Linked DNA regions of Homo sapiens: regions 2, 3 and 4 are each linked to region 1. The links are contacts of gene promoters, found by promoter capture Hi-C in blood cells and fetal thymus (Javierre and others, 2016). All regions are on one chromosome and are shown on one strand. The core of a region is centred on a gene start or on the middle of the fragment in contact, and the rest is flanking DNA. Distances in the headings are between cores, read along the strand shown.

What was found. The method cuts DNA at HindIII sites, captures the fragments that hold promoters and counts their contacts. A CHiCAGO score of 5 or more calls a contact.
Region 2: a contact is called between a fragment that was not itself captured here and the fragment with the promoter of DMRTB1 in region 1, in 1 of 17 cell types (M2 macrophages). The highest score is 5.6, in M2 macrophages.
Region 3: a fragment that was not itself captured here is called in contact with the fragment with the promoter of DMRTB1 in region 1 in 1 of 17 cell types (M2 macrophages); the score reaches 5.3 in M2 macrophages.
Region 4: a contact is called between a fragment that was not itself captured here and the fragment with the promoter of DMRTB1 in region 1, in 2 of 17 cell types (M1 macrophages and fetal thymus). The highest score is 5.9, in M1 macrophages.

What each region holds. Positions count from the first base shown.
Region 1 is chr1:53,458,138-53,460,680 of GRCh38, reverse strand. DMRTB1 (DMRT like family B with proline rich C-terminal 1) reads right to left here and starts at 1,282. Exons shown (of 4, transcript NM_033067.3): 1 at 651-1,282. The coding sequence starts at 1,227. The HindIII fragment of the contact is 2,763 bases long and covers 1-2,543 here.
Region 2 is chr1:53,771,034-53,773,576 of GRCh38, reverse strand. NDC1 (NDC1 transmembrane nucleoporin) reads left to right here. Exons shown (of 18, transcript NM_018087.5): 17 at 1,088-1,248. LOC124900439 (small nucleolar RNA SNORA58) reads left to right here and starts at 2,424; the gene lies at 2,424-2,543. RefSeq lists an enhancer at 2,477-2,543. The HindIII fragment of the contact is 325 bases long and covers 1,111-1,435 here.
Region 3 is chr1:53,750,097-53,752,639 of GRCh38, reverse strand. No RefSeq gene overlaps it. Among named protein-coding and RNA genes, the nearest start is that of GLIS1, 12 kb to the right of the region's middle. The HindIII fragment of the contact is 3,900 bases long and covers 1-2,543 here.
Region 4 is chr1:53,723,179-53,725,721 of GRCh38, reverse strand. All of the region lies in intron 2 of GLIS1 (GLIS family zinc finger 1), which reads left to right. Among named protein-coding and RNA genes, the nearest start is that of GLIS1, 15 kb to the left of the region's middle. The HindIII fragment of the contact is 1,471 bases long and covers 532-2,002 here.

The sequences.
Region 1 (2,543 bases), core at 33-2,532:
AAAGCTCCAAGGCACAGGGAACAATGTAATTTATGTACAAGGTGAAGGGAGAAAAGAAAGGCAACATCTTTACTGACCAACTGTTCTCGTGTGTGGAGTAAAGAAGCAGGCTCCCCTCACCTGCACGTGGGGAAACGGAGGGAAGAGGTGCGCAGGCGCACTGGGCCAGGGCGGAGCTGAGGGGAGGAGCCTCCCGACCGCGAACCGGGAGGGAAGAGTGCGCAGGCGTCCTTGCGCTAACGTGCCGGCAGGAAAATTCTGTTATTCTGGAGGAGGAGCCTCCAGCCCAAGGAAATGGCGGGAAGAGGTGCGCAAGAGCAGTAGGACTCGGCTCCTCGAAGCCTCCCCCGGAGGAGGAAGCACTGCTAAGTCGACTGGACGCCATTTTGTTCTTGCATGCCGGAATGGCACAAACTACAGCTAAATGTTAAAAGCCCTCTGAACCGCCCATTCCTTTCTGTTTCTCGTTTCCTTTTTGCGAAAAGTTACCCAATCCAAATCCCTGTTCGAAGAAGGGTTTCTCAAAGCGGAAGGTCCGTTACCCGTGGAAAAACTTCTCTCCACCCCGAACCCCTATGCCAGCTCCCCATCCGGGCTGGCCTGGGCTGCCAGCTCCGGGAGTCGACCGCGGGACCAAGGCCACGACTTACCAAAGTCGGTGAACAGTGGGCCGGGCACGGTCCGCATCGGCCTGCGCAGGTCTAGGGGGCCAGGGTAGCCACTGCCTGCGGCCTCCGCCCCAAAAGGGGGTCCCGCAAGGCTGGGCATCGCCACGGCGGCTCGCTCGCTCGGCTCCACGTGGCTGCGGCCGCCCAGAACCGGCTGGAGGGCTCTCGGGCCGGGGTTCCGGCCCCGCGGGGGCTGCTCGAAGAAGCAAGCGGCCGCGCGGCCCTCGGGTCCCGGGTCGGCGTCTCCGGAGGGAGTCCCCGGGGACAGCGGGCGGAGGCTCGCGGCCGGGACGGGGACGGGGGCGGGGGCGGCGGCCGCAGCCCCGGAGGCCTGCTTGGGCCCCTGCGCACACAGGGCCGCCTCCTGCTCCTCCTCGGCGGCCTGCGTCTTGAGCACCTTCTGCGCGGCCATGATCTTCTGGCGCTCGGAGATCAGGTAGCACTTCTCGCAGAGGCACTGCTTCCAGCGGCATTTGCCCGCGTGTCCCTTGACGGGCACCAGGAAGCCATGGTTCCTGCATCTCGAGCACTTGGGGGTGCGCACCATTTTGTCGGCCATTGGCAGGGTCAGCCTTCGTAACACAACCACCACCTCTGGGAGCTGCAGAGCAAGTGGCGCTGGGATGAGCCGCGCCCCACAAGTCCCTCGTTCTGGGGACATTGGATACACTTGTAACAAAGCGGCTCGCAGTGTGTCCCGGGAACTGCAGCAGGAACCTTGCATTTTCCCTCCTTTTGGGGGGTGCACAGTTTGGAGAGTTTCTGTGCTTTGGGTAATTAGATGCAATGGATTGGGTTGAATAAATTCTTCATGGGATGCTATTGCATGTATGTCATTTAGCTTATCTGAAGTCTTAGGCATGTAATTTTCCAAACTCTGTTCCCGCCACCGACGGAAGGTATTTGTAACTTTATGAAAGGCGGAGTGATATTCAACGGTCCACAAATTTAAAACTCGGGAGGAATGTAGCTCTCGGTGTAGAAAAATACTGTAAGAGGCAAACTGTATTTCTTCTCCCCAAAGCTGCTCCTTCTGTGGCAGTTCACTTCTCTGCCCTGCAGAGATGCTTCCAGGATATTCCAGAATATTCTCAAGAGTTCAGTGCAGTGTGATGGTTGCTCAAGGGTATGCCCTTACAGTAATTCCCGTTTCTTGAGAGTCTTGATGTAGGAATGCATTTCTGGATGTTGATGCCTTCCAAAGTGAGCATACTTAGAATATTTTAAAGTAAAATAGACAGAATATTGTAGCACTAAGCCTGGCATAGTGTCCTGTGCCTGTAGCCCTAGCTACTCGTGAGGATCACTTGAGCCCAGTAGTTGGAGACCAACCTGAGCAACATAGCGAGACTCCTCTTTCTAAAAAATTAAATAAAAAATTCTGCAAGACCCCTCTTTCTAAAAAATTAAATTAAAAAAAATTTCTAGCACTAGCTTCAGTGATTGCTTAACCTCATCATGAACTTCGTTATCCTTGTAAAACAACCCAAATCTTGGGACATCTGAAAAGTTAGCACAAACGTCATAGTTTACCCGAGGGCATTAATTGTTTTTTTTTGTTTTTTTTTTTTTTTTTGAGACAGAGTCTTGCTTTGTCACCCAGGCTGTAGTGCAGTGGCAGGATCTTGGCTCACTGCAACCTCCGCCTCCCAGGTTCAAGCGATTCTCCTGCCTCAGCCTCCTGAGTAGCTTGGATTACAGGCGCCCGCCACCATGCCCAGCTAATTTTTGTATTTTTAGTAGAGACGGGGTTTTCGCCATGTTGGCCAGGCTGGTCTTGAACTCCCGATCTCAGGTGATCCACCGGCCTCGGCCTCCCAATGTGCTGGGATTACGGGCGTGAGCCACCGCGTCCGGCCATTAATTCATTTTTTA
Region 2 (2,543 bases), core at 24-2,523, 310 kb before region 1:
CTCAGCTCTTTAGCAGGTCCCACTTGCATTTGTGAACGAGGATCACTAGATTTCTGAGGAAAGTCTCTCATGCAGAAGTTGGAGACTAAAGGGAGCAAAGGGGGAAAATCAGCTTGGAAGAAACTAAAAAACAAAAAAGCTGTCATCAGAATCCTTAGAAATAAGAAAGGATATTGCATCTTTGAAACAAAAATAGGATGCTAAAATTAAAAAGAACAGATGATGTTAAAGAGCTCTTGAAATTAAGAACTTGATGGCAAAAATAATTTTAATTATTTTTGTTTTCAGTTCTTTTGGTGGTTACATTCATAACTATAAATAGTACGCTTATACTGTTGTATCTTGTCAGTTTATTTTTCCATGGGGACCTCATGATGTAACAGTATCATAAATGCCTTATCTGAATTGAAAAGGAAGATAAACTATTTAGTGAATAACTATTTCTGTAAAGTATAAAGTTTTGGTCTTTTTTTTTTTTTTTGCTGAGGTCTTTTAATAAAGCTCCTCCTGGCTGTCACATCATAAGCAGAGTAGGACATCAGTGTTTGACTTCAAGCTTTGCATTTTCAAGGATATTGAATGATAGCTTCATTTCCAAGGGCAAGTCTGGATTTTGGGGGGGGCCTGGTAACTGTCATAGTAGCTGAGCCTCCCTATTGCATTGTTTATGAAACTATTTTGACTGTGATCTACAGTAAGAAATGTGTTACAGCATAGCTATAGATATGTGTATATCTCTCTGTATATATCCATTTGTATCTATCTCAAATCTTAATTCTTTGGACTGAAGTGACTTTTTTCTTTTTAATTTTTTATTTTATTTTATTTTATGTTATATTATGTTTGTTTTGTTTTGTTATGTTATGTTATGTTATGTTATGTTATGTTATGTTATGTTATGTTATGTTATGTTATTTTGAGACAGGATCTCTGTCGCCCAGTCTGGAGTACAGTGGAACTCCTGGGCTCAAGCAGTCCTCCCGCCTCGTCCTTCCAAAGTGTTGGGATTACACATGTGAGCCACAGCACCTGGCCTAGGTTGGCTTTCTTTATAATCTAAACTGATGTGTTTTCTTTCTTGGTGTAGGCAGTCGACAAGTACTTTAAGCTTCCTCATGCTTCCAGTAAACCACCCCGGATTTCAGGAAGCCTTGTGGACACTTCATATAAAACATTAAGATTTGCATTCAGAGCATCACTGAAAACTGCCATCTATCGAATAACTACTACATTTGGTGAACATCTGAAGTAAGTTTACCTGTTTTGATCCATGATGATACCTATTCTGGGGAGCTTTCCTTAGAAATAGGTATGGGAATGATAAGGCTCATGTGTTGAAAGTGTTCTTTTGGGACCTTGATGATTCTCACTGTAAACTTACAGCTTGGATGTGGACTTAATATTTATATTTTAAAATTTGGCCCATCATAAAGCTTTGGGGATTTCTTTCAAATGGACAAAAGAAGACAGAAAGTTATAAATGCAGCAGATTAATTATATATATATATTTAAATTATCAAAAGATCCTTAAGGGAGAAAAAAGAGCAGAAAACCCGAGTACCTTTCCAGAAAAGCATATTAAAACTAATTCTATTGTTATATCTTGGTCAGCAAACTGAAGACTTGGGGTGAGCAAAGTATTCCAGAAATGAATCCCTGGTGCTTTGTGATTCATGCTGGAAAAACACCAACAGATCACAACACCTTGAGAAACAGAACCAGAGAGAAAACCACAAATGCCAAGCCTGTTTATATTTAGTTTTATTCATGTTTACTGCTTTCCTCTTGTGAAATGATCTAGCTAGGCAGGATGAGGGATACTAGCTTAGTAACTAAACTGTATTTATATTTATCACAATTATAAATGAACTTTAGAAGACACGAGAGATTGCTCTGCTGTTTTTGTATGCAATCAATGAATAGTTTAAGACTTCCAATTTAAATTAAAGTTAAATAAAGTTAAAAATTCAATTTGTCAGTCACCCTAGCCACATTTGAAGTACTTAATAACTACATGTGTTTAGTAGCTACTGTATTGGACAACAGAAGTATAACATCTTTCCCTACTTCCAGAAAGTTTTATCAGATAGTGCTATTCTAGACAATACACTTAGAACTTAATGTTTTTTCATTTACTCTTTTCAAAGACCCTGTGAAGTGTAGAAATTATCATAATTGTACAGATACGAAAACTGAGGCATAGAGATGTTAAAATTTGCCTGATAGCACAATCTAGTGCGTATTAAACATGAACCTGAAATCAAGTCTTTCTTTCTCTTAAAAATCTTTCATCTTTCTATCTACAACACTAGACTGCCTCCAAGATATAAATTAGTATGTAGGACACATTCAGAAAATACTGATGAATTTAGAGAATGAAATAGATATGACATATATTAATGATAGAACAAAAGCAAGGAGAAGGGCATACCCGTAGACCTTGCCTGACTGTGCTCATGTCCAGGCAGGGGGGACATTGTATTCGAGATTAATTTGAAGTTCCTGCCAGCTTTATCCAGCTTAATCAGTGGCTGGATAAATAG
Region 3 (2,543 bases), core at 13-2,512, 290 kb before region 1:
TGAATGAGGTAAGGGAGAGAATATGTAGGTACCTGAGGGGTGAGTTCCAAAACACAGAACGGTCCCAAGGCAGGCATATACCTGATAAGTTCAAGGGATAGCAAAGAGGGCAGGGTGGCCAGGCGCAGTGGATGAGGTGGAGTGTGGTAATGTGAACAAGATGGGGGCCAGGACAAGCTCACTCAGGCCAGGTAGGCTACAGGAAGGACCTTGCTCCCGCTTCGAGTCAGGGACAGCCATTGGGAAGTTCTGAGCAAAGGAGTAAGATGTGTTGAATTACCTTTAAGAAATAATTTAGTCTGACTGTTCTGTGGAAAAGAGACTGGAGACCGTGGGTGGCAGGCAAGAATGAAAGAAGGTTAGGAGACCACTGCTGTAACCAGATGAGAGAGGATGGTGGCTGGGCCCAGGGTGAGATGCAGACAGATTTGATCTATTTTGAAGGAAGAGGTGACAAGCACTGCTGGTGGAATGGTTGTGGAGTGTGAAAGAGAAAGTCGCTAGTATTGACTCCAAGGTTTTTGGCCTGAGCAGCTGGTAGAATGGAACTGCCATTTAGTGAGATGGAGGAAGCAAGATGGGTTAGTTAAGTCTGGCTGCATGTAAATGAAAACTCAGAATAATGGTGATTTAAGTGACACAGTTATTTTTTTTTTCTCACATAAAAGAAGATCCAGAAATAGGCTGTCCAGAATGGCTATGGTGACTCCCTGAGGTTATCAGGGATTCAGGCTCATTCTAGCTCTCCACGTAGCCAGCCCCAAGGTGTGGTCCTGACTCTTGTGGTCCCACATGGCTCCTGGAACCACAGCCTTCATGCCTTCCTTCCAGGCAACAGGAAGAAGGAAGGGGAGGGAAAATAGCATCCTCCCTCCCTTTTAGGAACACTTCCTGAAAGTGCACATACTTAACGCTTAGCATCTCATTGGCCAAAGTGGTCCCATGGCCACATCTGGTTGCAAGGGAGTCTAGGAAATGTCTTTTAGAGGTTGATTGTAACCCATTAATAGAATTGGGGTTCTGCTACTGGAGAAAAATGAAAGGATGAATATAAAGGTAGGCTTCCAGCTGTCTCTGAGAGTTGGGTTTCGGAAATAATGAGTTCTAGTCTTATCTCTGGCACTATCTAGCTCTGTGAACTTCAGCTAAGATTTCACATCACTTATCTATTTCGACTGAAAAATCAAAGAATTGGACTGAATGATTTTGAAGTTCCCTTCTAACTGTAACATTGCATGAGTGTTTGAATTTGGGATGCAGTAAGGTAAGTTTGGTTTCATAAAAGAAATAAAATGTCTTTGAAGAGCGGATTATGCGAGATGTCTATTAAACGTCTTAAAACTGATTTTTTAATTGAAAAATTCATTTCAAACTTATTCATGAATACAATTCCATTCCTCTATTTATTAAAATGCTTTCTGGATACAGGTCTAGATGACTTTAATATGTGCCTGGAAAACAGCATAGGAATTACATAATACTAGTGTGTACTGGATGAGTCTTCTGTTTATTTTATAAGAAACATTTTAAATAAAAATAATCAACTATTCTGTTCCTTACTCCATATATGCATTTGGTTCAGCCTCATTTACCAACTTGTTGATCTGTTGAATCAATTTTGTACATGGGTTCATATCCACAAATTGCTGAACATGTTCGATACACATACAAAGTCCCTGCCTTCAAGGGGTCTGCAGTTTATTAGTGGGAATACAGTAAATACACAAATGGGTAAGTAACACAGCAGAGAATAGGTGCTCTGAGAAGGGCAATGACTCCACAGTTCACAGGAAGGAGTTATGGTGAAGGCTTTGTGCTTTTGGTGTTTGGTTGGGAGGGGAAGCCTTAAGTGGAGAAGGGGCCACTTGGAGATCTGGGTGGGCTGGGATGGGAGTGGTCAGCCAGGAAGGCATTCTAGGGGAAAGGAGAGGAAGGGACAGGTGACAGAGAATGGTCCAGATCAGCTGGAGATGAGGTGTGGTAGTGTGGTGGAAAGATGGTGGTATTTAGGGTCAAGCCTGACTCTGCCACTTGCTGGTTCTGAGGTCTTGAGCAAGTCACTTAGCCTCCTTGGGATCTCACTTCCACATCTGTAATAGGAAACAATACTACCCTGTTCATACGACTGTCCTGTGTATTGCTGTATGTACACAGCATTGTCTGCATTAATGTATGGAAAAGCACCTGCCACAGGGCCTGGGACTGTGTGCTTCCATAATAAGTAACAGGCCCTTCCTTACATATCTATAGCAAATATTGTCCGTTATAATTGTTTAAGCTATCAGATCTTATTGTCCTCATTAGCAGCATTTGACATGCATATTATAGTAAGTCTGATTCTGTTTCTCTATAAAGACAGTGATGAGCTGAGAGCCAATGAAAGTTTCTCTAGAAAAGCCATTGCAGCGATGAGCATGAGGAAGAGATATAGCTTAATGACTTGGTAATGGTGATGTTGACTTTGCTTCTGGAAACCACCACTGAGGACTAAGAATGCCTTGGGCCTCCCAGGGGAGGTTCCAAACCCTAAAACTGCTATTTTC
Region 4 (2,543 bases), core at 18-2,517, 270 kb before region 1:
CTGGTGGTTGGTTGGTTTATCCATATTTATCGGATGCCCGCTGTGCTCCCAGTGTTGGGTTCTGCCCTGGGACACCATGGAGAACCAACAGATGGAGCCCTTGCCTCCTCGGAGCTCGCAGCCTGGAGGGTCGGTGTTTGCAGGTTCCCCCTTCAGGCTGGCCGGGTTTCCAGGCCTCTGTGCGGCATCAGCACCTTATCATTTGCTGTCTGTCCTAGGCAGACTCCAGTTCTCCAGCCAGTCTCAGCCTCATGACCTCAGACAGTCTCACCCAGCCTTGGTCTGCTGAGTCACAGAATGGAAACTGGTGCTCACTCCCCTGGCCAGGGTAGCATGAGAATCAGTGAGGTAGGGTGGAAAAGGGCTCTCTAGGTGGCTAACAATTGGGAACTCTAGGACAGGTCAGAACTTGAGTTTGCAGACCAGCCCTCTACAGGACACTGGTGGACACAGAGTGTTAAATCCTGGGCTTGAGGACTGCTTTGGGCAGCCCTTTTCTTGTACCTGTTGCCGATTCTGGTGGCTTAAGCTTTCTTCTTGGAGTGAATACCTACTCATTGTCTCAGGCAATACAGGCCAACAACTTTCCTCTTTCAGCAAGTCTGCAGGGTGTCTCCTGTCCCAGCTTCATACCTCTCCCTCCCCACTCTTCCCATTCCCACTCTCTCCATGGCTCTGGCTGCTATGCACTCAGAATACGGAAGAGCTATTTGCTGGGGTGGGGTAGAGAAAACTAAATTCCCATTGCTTGATGTTGGCTGAGCAGGTGGCACTGTTGGAGACTCGCCTCCTATTCCTCTTTCTCCTCCTCATTTTTTTTCATTATCCTACAGTGATCAATTGAGCATTGTTAGGTACTGGACCAATCATCTTTTTAAAAATGAATCATCTTAACAGCCATGCACCTGTAGTCCCAGCTAGTGGTGAGGCTGAGACAGGAGGATTGCTTGAAGCCAGGAGGATTGCTTGAAGCCAGGAGTTCAAGACCAGCCTGGGTAACATAGTGATACTCTGTCTTTACTTTTAAAATTTAAAAATTAGCTAGGTTGATGGTGTGCACCTGTAGTCTCAGCTACTAGGGAGGCTGAGGGGGAGGATCACTTGAGCCCAGGAGTTCAAGGATGCAGTGAACTGTAGTCAAGCCACTGTACTCCAGCCTGGGTGACAGAGCAAGACCCTATCTCTCAAAATAAAATAAAAGATCATCTTGTTTAATCTTAAAACTACCTTGTGATGTTTGCTTCTCCACAAAAACACTATGGCTATTTAGATGAATTACAATTAAATAAAATTAAAAATTTAGTTTTCCAGTCATACTAGCTACATTTCAAGTGCTCAGTAGACACATGGCTAGCTGGTAGCTACCATATTGGAAACTGCAAATATAGAGCATTTCCTCCGTCACAGAAAGTTCTGTTGGACAGCATTAGTCTAAAATATCATTCTTTAATGTATTCATTTGTTCCTCACCTGTTTCCTGACACTCTTGTCACATGCTAAAGTCTCTAGCATCCTTGGCCTCTACCTTGGGGAGCATCCAGTTGAGAGGGTGGGCAGATGGCCATAGAAGTGTTGAGATGGGGCTGTCATGCTGGCTACCAGTCCTGCCTCCTGTTGGAGATACACATGTGAGTCCTAGGATCTGTCCTATTCTCAGAGTGTTCTTAAGGCAGCACTGATAAAAGAGATCAGGGCAGTCTTCCATGAGAGGTAGCATTTGAGTGGCCAGACCTGGTGGGTGGCTTCTGCTGGTTCCTTAGCGGGTAACCCAGAGCCAGCTCACCCCTGGAAATGGAAACATGCTGACAGTGCCCTGAGCAGCAGCTTAAACGGGAATGGCAGAATATTGATTTATTCTTGTAGGTTCCTGGATTTTAACAAATTACTGAGTTTTTACTCCTAGTCCTTCTTTGGGAAGTGGCTGACCCTTTAAAGGTAATTTAATTTAATACTCTTTATTTTTTCCCACTCACGTGAGTACTATATACTTACTGTAGAAGCTTTGGAAACTATAGAAACATGGAAAGATGGAAATAATACTTGCCCAGAATCTCACCCCCCAGTAATGACTACTATTTACATTTTGGTAGATTTCTTTTCAGTCTTCTTTCTATGCTTGTCTATTAATATAGTTTTATATCATTGAGATCATTCTGAATATAGTCTTATTACTTACATTTAAATTTAAGGCCAGGCGCGGTGGCTCACCCCTGTAATCCCAGCACTTTGGGAGGCCAAGGCAGGCGGATCACCTGAGGTCAGGAGTTCAAGACCAGCCTAGTCAACATGGCGAACACTGTCACTACCATACAAAAATTAGATGAGCATAGTGGCACGCACCTGTGATCCCAGCTACTCGGGAGGCTGAGGCAGGAGAATTGCTTGAAGAACATGGGAGGTAGAGGTTGCAGTGAGCTGAGATCAAGCTGCTGCACTCCAGCCTGGGTGACAGAGTGAGACTCCAGCTCAAAAAAAAAAAAAAGTAAATAAATAAATAATAAGCTTAACATTGAACATAATAAACCTTTTTTATGTTATTAACA